Regions from separate parts of the Homo sapiens genome. Here region 2 is linked to region 1. Evidence: promoter capture Hi-C in 16 types of primary human blood cells and fetal thymus (Javierre and others, 2016). All regions are on one chromosome and are shown on one strand. Each heading gives the region's core, a stretch centred on a gene start or on the middle of the fragment in contact. The rest is flanking DNA. Distances are from core to core; before and after follow the strand shown.

Region 1 (5,943 bases), core at 2,043-4,542:
AGGAGTATGGCTGGCACTCAAAGGATTCCCTGGGATACTCTTGGTGCTTGCATGGCCTGTTAAGATGCACTGGAAGTAACTACAGCCTTATTAAAGCACAGAAATAGGTCTTCTGGTTTCTCAGAAATGAAGAAATGTTTCTCTCCACTGAGAAGGCAACCTAGACAAGGAGAACTCCTGATCAAGTATGAGCAAAACCTAGAATGGGTAATAGAGGAGAAGATCTTGAATATCAGTTAGGATCACAAAATCAGTTGCAGCAAAGAGGACTATAGCTTAGACTTTCCTATTGTGTGTGTGTGTGTGTGTGTGTATATATATATATTTAAACTAACGACCAGCCACAAAATTGAAGAAGCCATTAAGGAAAGGTTGATCTTTGCATAAGATAGGGGCAATATGGATGGGATACCCACAACATCTGTGAAGGCCATCTCCCTTTATCACTCAACCTTGCACATTCCAATGGCATCTCACTGCAAACATCAGAGATCCTTCATCTAAGCATTTTTTCTCAGCCCACACGTGGGCCAGGTCAGGAGTGCAAGGGGGTTATGCTTTCAGGACCAGTCTTTATCCAGAAATGAAAGGAAGTTGGAAGAAAAGTACCCCAGGTTTCTAACCCACCCAAGAGGGAAATTGGAGGCAGATTTTACATTGTTTCCTAGAGTTACCTGAGGAGATCTAACTCCTGGTTCCCACAACAAAACCTGCTAGATATGTTCCCAGTCACTGGCTTCATTCCGTTCCAGTTTTCACTTTCCCACTGTCCTACCCCGTTTCTTATGAGCACCTTCAAAATAAATATCCCTTGCTCACAAATCCTTGTCTAGGAACTAAAGCTCCAAAAATACTGCCTAACAGCCACTCTGTTCATTGTAAAATAAAGATAGAAAAAAAATTGTCTTGTAGGATTGAAACCAGGATAATATGAGATATTTAGTGTCCAGATCTTAGAATCCATTTATTAAAAAGGGACAATAATAATGATGATTATTATGATGATTCACTCAACAAACACAAAAGGACTACAATAAAGTGCTTGGGTTTCAGTCTTAAGATCCATTTATTAGTAGCTCTGTGATTTTGGGCAAGTTACTAAATCTCCCTGTGTCTTAGCTTTTGTAAAATTGGGAGAAAGCATTTGTTGGGAGAATTAAAATAGAATAATCCACACAAAGTAGTGAAACCTGTCCAGGGCATTACAAATGTCTAATAAATAATATCCTTGTTATCATTCATCATGTACTAAGTGCCAAAAACTTTGTCCTTGCCTGTGAGTTAAAGTTCTCAGCTACTGAACCTACTGCGAAAGTAATAAACTTAGTCCTGTGTGAGCAGCTCTAACATTTCACAACAATAGACCTCAAAAATCATATGAGCTCTTCCCCTGGCCTACTCCCAAACTGGAGATGAATGTCAACGTATTTCAAGCTAGGTTTGAAATACCACATACTTTGAACAACTGTGAAAGATCTCAAATTTCTCTTCTAGTAACAACAACAATGGAAGCAGGGAGGAGTATGGCTGGCACTGAAAGGATTCTCTGCAGTTTCTAGGAAACATGCAGTTTCAAAGAAGTCAGGTCAAATACATCCAGCCTATCTACACTAGGTAACAGTTGGGCAATTCCCTTTGTCATCTGGCTTAGTCACTGAATTTCCTTTTTGGTTTCTATTTCCTACAGAGAACTTTCAAAAATCCCCCTTTCTGTTATTCCATATTTTGTATTCAAATTGTCTCCTTTTTCGAGCAGGGAAAATGGGGTGGGAAGAACAAAAACCCCAGGACTGAGTGAAGAAAATAAATGAGAAATCACCACAGTGAAAGTAAAAGACGAGAGTTCGAACTCAGCAAGTTCTCATCGAAGCAGCTTTCTTTTTTCTTTTCTTTTCTTTTTTTTTTTTTTTTTGAGACAGAGTCTCGCTCTGTCACCCAGGCTGAAGTGCAGTGGTGCAGTCTCGGCTCACTGCAAGCTCCGCCTCCCAGGTTCAAGCCATTCTCCTGCCTCAGCCTCCCGAGTAGCTGGGACCACAGGCGCCCGCCACCATGCCCAGGTAATTTTTTGTATATTTTTAGTAGAGACGGGGTTTCATCGTGTTAGCCAGGATGGTCTAGATCTCCTGACCTCGTCATCCACCCGCCTCGGCCACCCAACATGCTGGGATTACAGGCGTGAGCCACCGTGCCCAGTCCCTCATGGAAGCAGTTTTCTTACTAGCTCTAAAATACCTCTTCTCCCGATTTTATAATCAAGGTAATGAGAGGTGACGGCGTGCTGGCAGCCCTTGCAGCCCTCCCTCGCTCTCGGTGCCTCCTCTGCCTGGGCACCCACTCTGGCGGCACTTGAGGAGCCCTTCAGCCCTCCGCTGCACTGTGGGAGCCCCTTCCTGGGCTGGCCGAGGCCGGAGCTGGCTCCCTCAGCTTGCTGGGAGGTGTGGAGGGAGAGGCAGGGGTGGGAACTGGGGCTGCGCCCGGTGCTTGAGGGCCAGCGCGAGTTCTGGGTGGGCTTGGGCTCTGAGGGACCTGCACTCGGAGCGGCCCCAGGCAGTGAGGGGCTTAGCACCTGGGCCAGCAGCTGCTGTGCTCCACTTCTTGCAGGGCCTTAGCTGCCTCCCGGTGGGGCAGGGCTGGGGACCTGCAGCCTGCCATGCCTGAGCCTCCTCCCCTCTCCCGCTCCCCACCTCACCCCGCCATGGGTTCCTGTGCTGCCTGAGCCTCCCCAACCTGTGCTGACCCCTGCTCCACAGCACCCTGTCCCATCCATGGCCCAAGGACCGAGGAGTGCCAGTGCATGGAGCAGGACTGGCAGGCAGCTCCACCTGCCGCCCGGTGCAAGATCCACTGGGTGAAGCCAGCTGGGCTCTTGAGTCTAGTGGGAACTTGGAGAATCTTTATGTCTAGCTAAGGGATTGTAAATACACCAATCAGCACTCTGTATCTATTTAATCTGGTGGGGACTTGGAGAATCTTTATGTCTAGCTAAGGGATTGTAAATGCACCAATCAGCACTCTGTATCTACCTCAAGGTTTGTAAATGCACCAATCAGCACTCTGTATCTAGCTCAAGGTTTGTAAATAGGCCAATCCACACTCTGTATCTAGCTAATCTAGTGGGGACATGAAGAACTTTTGTGTCCAGCTCAGGGATTGTAAACACACCAATCAGCACCCTGTCAAAACAGACCAATCAGCTCTCTGTAAAATGGACCAATCGGCTCTCTGTAAAATGGACCCATCAGCAGGATGTGGGTGGGGCCAGATAAGAGAAGTAGCCAGCAGTGGCAACCCACTGAGGTCACCCTCCAGGCTGTGGAACCTTTGTTCTTTCACTCTTTGCAATAAATCTTGCTGCTGCTCACTCTTTGGGTCCACACTGCCTTTATGAGCTGTAACACTCACTGGGAATGTCTGCAGCTTCACTCCTGAAGCCAGCGAGACCACGAACCCACCAGGAGGAACAAACAACTCCAGACGCGCAGCCTTAAGAGCTGTAACACTCACCGCGAAGGTCTGCAGCTTCACTCCTGAGCCAGCCAGACCACGAACCCACCAGAAGGAAGAAACTCCAAACACATCCGAACATCAGAAGGAGCAAACTCCTGACACGCCACCTTTAAGAACCGTGACACTCAACGCTAGGGTCCGCGGCTTCATTCTTGAAGTCAGTGAGACCAAGAACCCACCAATTCCGGACACGGTAAGACTGGGGCAAGAGGTGGAAGAGATTTGCAAGATTCATTTGGTTTTAGAAACATTCTACAAAGGATAGGATGCAGCTTATCCTGATGTGGTATATCAGACCTCAGTAAAGAATAAATTGTATTCTTATCAGACAGGCAGCAGAATTCATCAAGTACCAGCTGTGTCTGCCTCTTGCTGAATTAGACATCAATGTGTGTGGTGACTAAACTAAGAGTTTGAAATGCCTTCAAATTATTTTTCTTCCTTTGCAATTTTATGACTTATTCAGGATCATAATTTCCACTTAAGTTACCTTCGTCCTTCATAAAATCTGATTAAACTGACTCGAACTTCAGCATGAAAGTTTCAAAAACTATGATAGCTATTATTTTCATGAGAAAGAACAATGAATATGATGCAATGTAAGTAGCTTGCAAACATTAAGGACAAGAAAAAAATGTTGCCCAGAGAGAAGTTTCATGAAAACAGTGATGTATTTTTAGTCATAGTCTTGTACTTTGTTTGAAAGTAGATTTCTTCCTTTAGCAATAGCCCTGACTTAATTCATGTTGGTTTCTTGGCATCTACTCACTTAACTAACCCCTTTTGTGTTGGGTTCTGCTTCTACTACTCTATTGCCTTTACTATTATGAATCACCTAATTTAACAGTTGCCCAACTGGATCCCTCAATACTGTCTGGCAACTGTTCACTCGTTGAAATTCTCTCCTTTGAATTTCTTACCATGACACATACTTCAAGCATTTTGTACTAGTTTGATTTCCATTTATATCCTTAATAAGAGCCTTTTCCTTTTCCTTGAAATTCAAACCAGAAACTATGCAAAATAAGCAAAAGCAAGCAATAACAACTACATATACAAATGCAGGCGCAAAACCCAAACTAGAATCATATGGCTGAAAACAGATGTTTTCTTTCAGAAATCCTTCCACTACCACTTCTGAGCATTTTCTCTTAGTATTTTTTTTTGGGCATTTTCCTTCTTTGCACTTTTTAAAATCTCCTGCAGCTCGCTCACTCTCTTTCATAAGCCAGCAGTTATACTGATGTTAATAAATAGTTGTTTATTTACTTTTGCTTTTTTAGAAAACAAGCTGAAAGAATTGAGTGAAATGCCAGAGAGATACAGATAGCCAGTTGTAGGGCTGGGGTTGGAAATCAAGTCTAATTTAAGGCAAGGGCAAAATGTGCATTTTGTGTGTGTATTTTGAACCATTCTTGCATTGTTTTTATTTGCAAAGGTTATAGGGCTCAAGCAGTTAGGGAGAATGCATCCCAGAACACTAAGTTATGAATAACAGAGCAACAGTTATGTTTGTGGCTTGAACACATTAAATCTGCAATAATGTTTTAGAAATTTGGCTTTACTAAAAGCATTAAAGATGCTATCCAGATGACATTGGGGACAACATGTCAAATACTATTATTAATGTAGATATACAATGCTATTGTCATTCATAAGAGAGTCTGAACACTCAGACACATTCATTCCCTCTTCCTTAGTGACATCATCCCAAATCATAAGATCTTGTAAGCTCTCAATATCTGCTTATAGATTTGGCTTATGTATCTTTTGTTTTTCTAGCTAATTGTTGTAGATCATCACTTCAAGGTGCCCATATCTTTCTAGTGGAAAAATTATTCTGGCCTCCGCTGCATACAAATCAGGCAACCAGAATTCTACATATATAAGGTACTAATACTACATTGAAAATAGATTAGAATGAGAAGAGACCTGCCATTTGAGTCTCTAAATTTGTTGCAAAATTGCCTCTTTCTGGGTCAGGCTTGCACTAGGCATTTCCTGACTCCCATGTCCTAGTGCTACACCATTTGCAAATGGATATCCTATTTTCTGCTGCCAAGCAGTTTCTGTTTTAATTTATGTCAACATAATGATTTCCAGGGCATTAGCTATGAGGAAGCAGGGAGAATGGGTCTTCATAATTGTAAAATGACAGTTTTTGAAATTTGCTAGTAAAGAGATGGAGAATCCAAACCTTTTCATTGTAAGATTTTAGTGAAAGAACTCGTCAAGCGGATAGTGAAGTTTTAGCATCCTTAGTAAATAACCACCTTTAAAATGGAAGAAAACTATCCTTTATGATAAGGCAAAGTAGAAAAGCATATTTTTATGGCATTTGCTTTTTCTCATATAGCTCAAACATTTTTTTTAACCAGAGACTCTTTAGGTTATAGGGATTGATGCTCAGAAGTTAGAAAAAAATAGGTTAAGTAT
Region 2 (5,943 bases), core at 1,264-3,763, 54 kb after region 1:
AATAAGACTGAATTGAGGGTATACTTTTCTCAAGTGATGCATCTCCAATTTCTTGAAAAAGTGACATCACAGCCAACTCAACAAGTGAGTTCCATTGCCTGACTTTTTGGGTAGTTCTAAAAGCCTTGTCTTTATCCTGTCTATTTCTATGCCCAATAATATCCTAGGTGGTTTTAGTTTGCCTTATTTTTACTGGTTTTCACAGTGACTATACTTTCCTATTCTAGAATTCCCCAAGGCTATGAATCTTATCTTTAAAAGACCATTGTTTCTTTGTCTCTACATTTTTCCTGACTGAAGAATTTGTAATGAACAAGTTGTTCCAAATCACTGGTTCTGGAGTTAAATTAGTAGAATACTTAAAAAGTCATTTTCATTAAATCAAGGCTCATTAAACTCCTTTATTGTAAGAAACCATTTTAATAGTTATTCTTTTACCTGTTCATATTTTTTGGATTAGACTTATGGAATATGATTTTAAAATATTTTTTTCCTTGTGGCATTTACAAGTCATGGAAGCTGGAAGTAGGACTCCAAATTTATTTATTTTTCCTCCATTGAAAATAACATAAATCATGTTTTGGAGCAAAAAACTAACTGGCTTTACATTCTGGGTCTCTAGACTCACATCTTTATACACTCATTTTAAAAAATGAGAGAGATGAGAGAAAAAGGAAGTTATCTAGAATAAGAGAAAGAGTGAGAGGGAGAGAGGGAGAAACTTTTTGGATCTAGGTAACTGAAGAAGGACTGCTTTTATTTGGTCTTAGGTCATATGCTCATTCTTCCTCTAAATCAATCTTCATGACTCAGAAAGTATGGGACCACTATAATTATCTCAGATTAGGTTTGTGTCTTGAGTCTGCCAAGTTTAATTACAAGATTTCAAAAAAATTCTAATATTATTGCACGTACTTTTAGAGTTATAATGTATCTTTCAGGTCTAAATATTGTATGATTAAATTTTACTAGATAAACCACTGGCAATTTAGCTAAGGTTTATATTTATCTAGCTGCTTTTGTTGTTATATTGAAACAGGAATTAAAAGAAATTAAAGAATGTGTAAGCAAAAACTCAGTTGTATGTAAGAAAACCCAATTCCCCCTGAGGAAGAGAAAGAGATGAAGTCCTTTAAAACTTAACTGCCTGTTTTCCTGTGGCTAGTGAGCCTTATCTCTCCCTTTCCCAGGCATTGTGAAGACCCTGTTTTTCTAGCTGTGCAGCTGCAAGGCCACTAGGCAGATAAACTCAAGTTGTAAAACATGTTTTTCCTTGAAAAGTAAGAAATGATGTAATGCATGTCTCAATTAAATAACTGTCTTTGTTTCTTGCTTCTGTAATATGCTTCCCCCTGCACAGATCTCCCCCACCCCACAAAATGCTTAAAAGATAACCAGACTCTTTGTTTGGAGCTCAGTTTTTTTGGATGTTAATCTGACTGGGCCGGTGCACCTAAATAATAAATAATAAGTATCCTCTTCAACTCCTCAGTCTCTCTGATTCCTAAATTATCCCGCTGCAATATATGGCCATGAAGTTAAGTATGCACATAGAAAAATATACATGAATGTGTACATGCAAACACACATATGAGTATTTTGATTGCTAGTGAAAATAACATTGTGTTAAATATATATATTCAAAAAAAGAAGATAAAAAGAAAAAATGAGGAATTAAAAAAAATGTTAATTTAAAAAACAAGCTTCTTCCCTCACAGAATTACTCCTGAGCCAGGATGTTTTATGTTTTCAGCATACCATTGCTTTGTTTACATTCCCACTGTAAGGGGAATGCACTGTATTTCTTGGGATCATCAAGGAAACCTTTACCAATGCTAAAGGAGGGGCAAATCTTGGTTTCTAAAGCCCAGTGTGGAAGAAGCTGACTTTCTTCCTGTTGAGAGGTGAAGCCAGCTGGGCTTCTGGTTCAGGTGGGGACTTGGAGAACTTTTCTGTCTAGCTAAAGGATTGTAAACACACCAATCAGCGCCCTGTGTCTAGCTAAAGGTTTGCAAATGCACCAATCAGCATTCTGTAAAAATGCACCAATCAGCACTCTGTGTCTACCTAAAGGTTTATAAATGCACCATCAGCACTCTGTAAAAATGGACCAATCAGTGCTCTGTGTCTACCTAAAGGTTTATAAATGCACCATCAGCACTCTGTAAAAATGGACCAATCAGCACTCTGTAAAATGGACCAATCAGTGCTCTATAAAATGTACTAATCAGCAGGACATGGGCGGGGCCAAATAAGGGAATAAAAGCTGGCCACATCCAAGCCAGCAATGGCAAACTGCTCGGGTCCCCTTCCACACTGTGGATGTTTTGTTCTTTCACTCTTCTCAAAAAATCTTGCTGCTGCTCACCCTTTGGGTCCACACTACCTTTATGAGCTGTAACACCACGAATATCTGTGGCTTCACTCCTGAAGTCAGCGAGACCGTGAACCCACCAGAAGGAATAAACTCTGGACACATCTGAACATCTGAAGGAACACACCGTCTTTAAGGAACTGTAACACTCACTGCAACAGTCCGTGGCTTCATTCTTCAAGTCAGCGAGACCAAGAACCCACTGGAAGGAACCAATTCTGGACACACTGTCTCATGCCACACAACCTCCTGCCTCAGCAAAAACAGTGAAAATGTGAACAGAAAAATCCACAAGAAATGTATGTCTTTTCAATTTCAGTTTTCCTCATTGGATTCTTAATTGGATGGCTTATACTGAAACCAACCCAATAATCTCATAGACAGTTTTTTCTTACAAACATAGAGGTTGGCACTTGTGGTCTTAGGGCTTGAAACTTACATTTGTTTTATCTGAGTTCCTTCCTCAAGAAAGGACCCCCAGTCCTCTCAAAGAGTATCAAAGAACTGAAACTCACCAGATCATCATATCCAGTCAATAGGATGCCATGACCCTCATTAATTACGATTGTTTCTTTACTCTTCCCTAGTTCCTGTTTCTCCACACATAGTTACATTTCTTCCCTGCCATGTAAACCCTTAATTTTAGTTGGTCAGTGAGATGGATCTGAGACTGAGCTCTCATTTCCTCAGCTGGAGCACCCAATTAAAGCCTTCTTCCCTGGCAATCCTCATCATCTTGGTGATTGGTTTTATGTGCAGTGAGCATCAGGGCTTAGAACAAACCCCTGGTGTTTTGGTAACAATATCTGGTTTGATTTTCAGCTACTAAAAAGAACATTTCATTTGCAGGGAGCCAGACACAGGAGAGCTGAAGGGCTCAGCAAGGGCGGCTAGGAACTTGTCCCCTGGCTGCAGGGCCCACACCAGGTAAATTCACTCCTAAGCTTTACCTTTCATGTACATTTGGGTTAACAAACAACAATGAATTCCCAAACACAGACTGCACTAGAGGGTGGGCTAAGTTAGCTGGAGGACCATGCAGGTGGCCCTGTGCTGTATGGCTTGTGGAGTGCTTTGCTTCTAGAGAACCAGTATGTCCATTTAGTCCAGAGTTGGCTTTGAGGTGACAGTGCACTCCCAACATCCCCAGGATGCACTGCTCCTCCTCCTCCTTGGGTATCCACTCAGGGCTGTAGCAAAGAACCCTACCTAGGACATGGAAGAATGCATCCTACCCTTCTCTGTGCAACAAGAGCTGTAGTCACTTCTCAAACAAAGAGACCAAATCCAGCCCCCTCACAGAGGGTCTGGGTGGAATAGCTTTCTCCACCCTACCCCCAGCCTGCTTCATCTCTCTTCCTTAGACATTGCCTGACTGTCTTTTGCCATCGCATTGGAGAAACAACAACAACAACAAAATGGTCCTTACCTTAAGAAAATTTAAATACTAAAACAGAGGCTCAATTATTTTTTAATTATCCACAATGAATAATATTCTGTAGATACTACAAAGCTGTATTATATGGAATAATTCAATGTCACACTTACAAATTGTTAAAAATAACAATAAGGTATAAGCATATTTGTTTATGGAGCACTGTTCATAAATGTGTGGTCCATGACTAAAGTGCATCAGAATAACTTGTGGCACTTTTTGAAACTACAGGTTTGGAGCATTTGTAACCATCACTGCAGATAATTCTCATGGACAGTAAGTTTTGGAAGCCACTGATGGTCTACCCTCAGCTAACAGAGCTATCTAATTTTACTTGTTTCCTTTAGAGTTAAAAGCTTCTTACCTTGGATACCTTCATCCTGCTTTGCAGAAAAGAAAAAAGAAAAAAAAAACTTTGTAAGCACGTCTACTCCCTCTTAAAGCTTTTTTAGATATGTTTAAAAAACCTCTACAATTTCTCCTGTCCACAGCAATAAAAGAAAAGAAATTGGAAGAAGGAGTCTGTTAAAACAATCCCATCAAAAAGTGGGCAAAGGATATGAACAAATACTTCTCAAAAGAAGACATTTACGCAGCTAACAAACATGAAAAAAATCTCAACATCATTGATCATCAGAGAAATGCAAATCAAAGCCACAATGAGACATTTCACACCAGTCAGAATGGTGATGATTAAAAAGTCAGGAAATAATAGATGCTGGTGAGGCTGTGGAGAAATAGGAACGCTTTTACACTGTTGGCGGGAATGTAAATTAGTTCAACCATTGAGGAAGACAGTATGGCAATTCCTCAATGATCTAAAACCAGAAATACCATTTGACCCAGCAATCCCATTACTGGGTATATACCCAAAGGAATATAAATCATTCTATTATAAAGATACATGCACATGTACATTTATTGCAGTAGTATTTACAATAGTAAAGAAAAGAAGTAAAGACATGGAACCAACCAAATGCCCATCATCAATAGACTGGATAAAGAAAATGTGATACATATACACCATGGAATATTATGCAGCCATAAAATGAGATCATGTCCTTTGCAGGGATATGGATGAAGCTGGAAGCCATCATCCTCAGCAACCTAACACAGGAACAGAAAACCAAACACAGCATATTCTCATTCGTAAATGGGACTTGAACATTGAGAACACATGGACACAGAGAGGAGAACAACAAACCCCAGGGTCTGTTGGGGGAGTGGGGGGTGAGGGGAAGAAACTTAGAGGATGGGTCAATAGGCGCAGCCAACCACCATGGCACATGTATTCCTATGTAGCAAACCTGCACTTTCTGCACGTGTATCTAGTTGTTTTTTTTTTTTTAGAAGAAATAAAGAAAAAAAGAGAGTCTGTTAAAAGCCCAATTGAGAGTTTTTTCCCCTAAAAAAATTTTTCTTGGTAATGTACCCCTTACAGAATGTATTAACTCATTACCCAACTTGGCCATTCTAGAAACAGTATATTAATACTGGCAAAGTAAGGAAAACTTATTGAGAGCCCACTTCTTATTAACCTGTATAGTAATAAATCAGGCAATCATTACTGCTTACCAATAACATTGATTAGAAAATTGAGGCTTAGAGAGGTAAGCTCACCTCCATGGTCTTATAGGAAATAGGTGATTTGAACCCAAGGGGTTGAATTCTGGCAGTCTCCAGAATCTGTGCTGTAACATCCTATTACAGAAACGTAGGTCCTGCTGCTCACCACACAGAAAGCCAATCATTGAGACAATGATTATTGCCAAGGAAAAAAGCTTTACCGGGGTGCTGAAGCCAAGGAGAGGGGAAATCAGTCCCAAATCCATCTCCCTGACTAACTAAAATTAGGGGTTTATATAGCAGGGAAGGATGTAACTATGTGTGAGAAAACAAGAACTCGAAAGGAGTAAGGAGGCAATCAGGATAAATGAGGGGCCTGGTGTCTCATTGTCTCGATGCCATGATTTGCTGAGTTTCAGTTCTTTGATACTTTTTGAGAGGTCTTGGGATCCTTTCCAGAGGAACAAACTCAGATAAAACATGTAAGTTTCAAGCTTTAAGACCAGAAGGATCAATTTCTATGTTTATCATAAAAACCTGTCTATGGGACTATTAGGCCAGTTTCAGT

Evidence for each region. The method cuts DNA at HindIII sites, captures the fragments that hold promoters and counts their contacts. A CHiCAGO score of 5 or more calls a contact.
Region 2: a contact is called between a fragment that was not itself captured here and the fragment with the promoter of GBP5 in region 1, in 7 of 17 cell types (total CD8 T cells, non-activated CD4 T cells, naive CD8 T cells and 4 more). The highest score is 9.1, in total CD8 T cells.

What each region holds. Positions count from the first base shown.
Region 1 is chr1:89,270,209-89,276,151 of GRCh38, reverse strand. GBP5 (guanylate binding protein 5) reads left to right here and starts at 3,292. Exons shown (of 12, transcript NM_052942.5): 1 at 3,292-3,700; 2 at 5,290-5,397. It also overlaps the pseudogene LOC100421401. The HindIII fragment of the contact is 6,725 bases long and covers 1-5,943 here.
Region 2 is chr1:89,215,312-89,221,254 of GRCh38, reverse strand. No RefSeq gene overlaps it. Among named protein-coding and RNA genes, the nearest start is that of GBP4, 19 kb to the right of the region's middle. The HindIII fragment of the contact is 1,615 bases long and covers 1,706-3,320 here.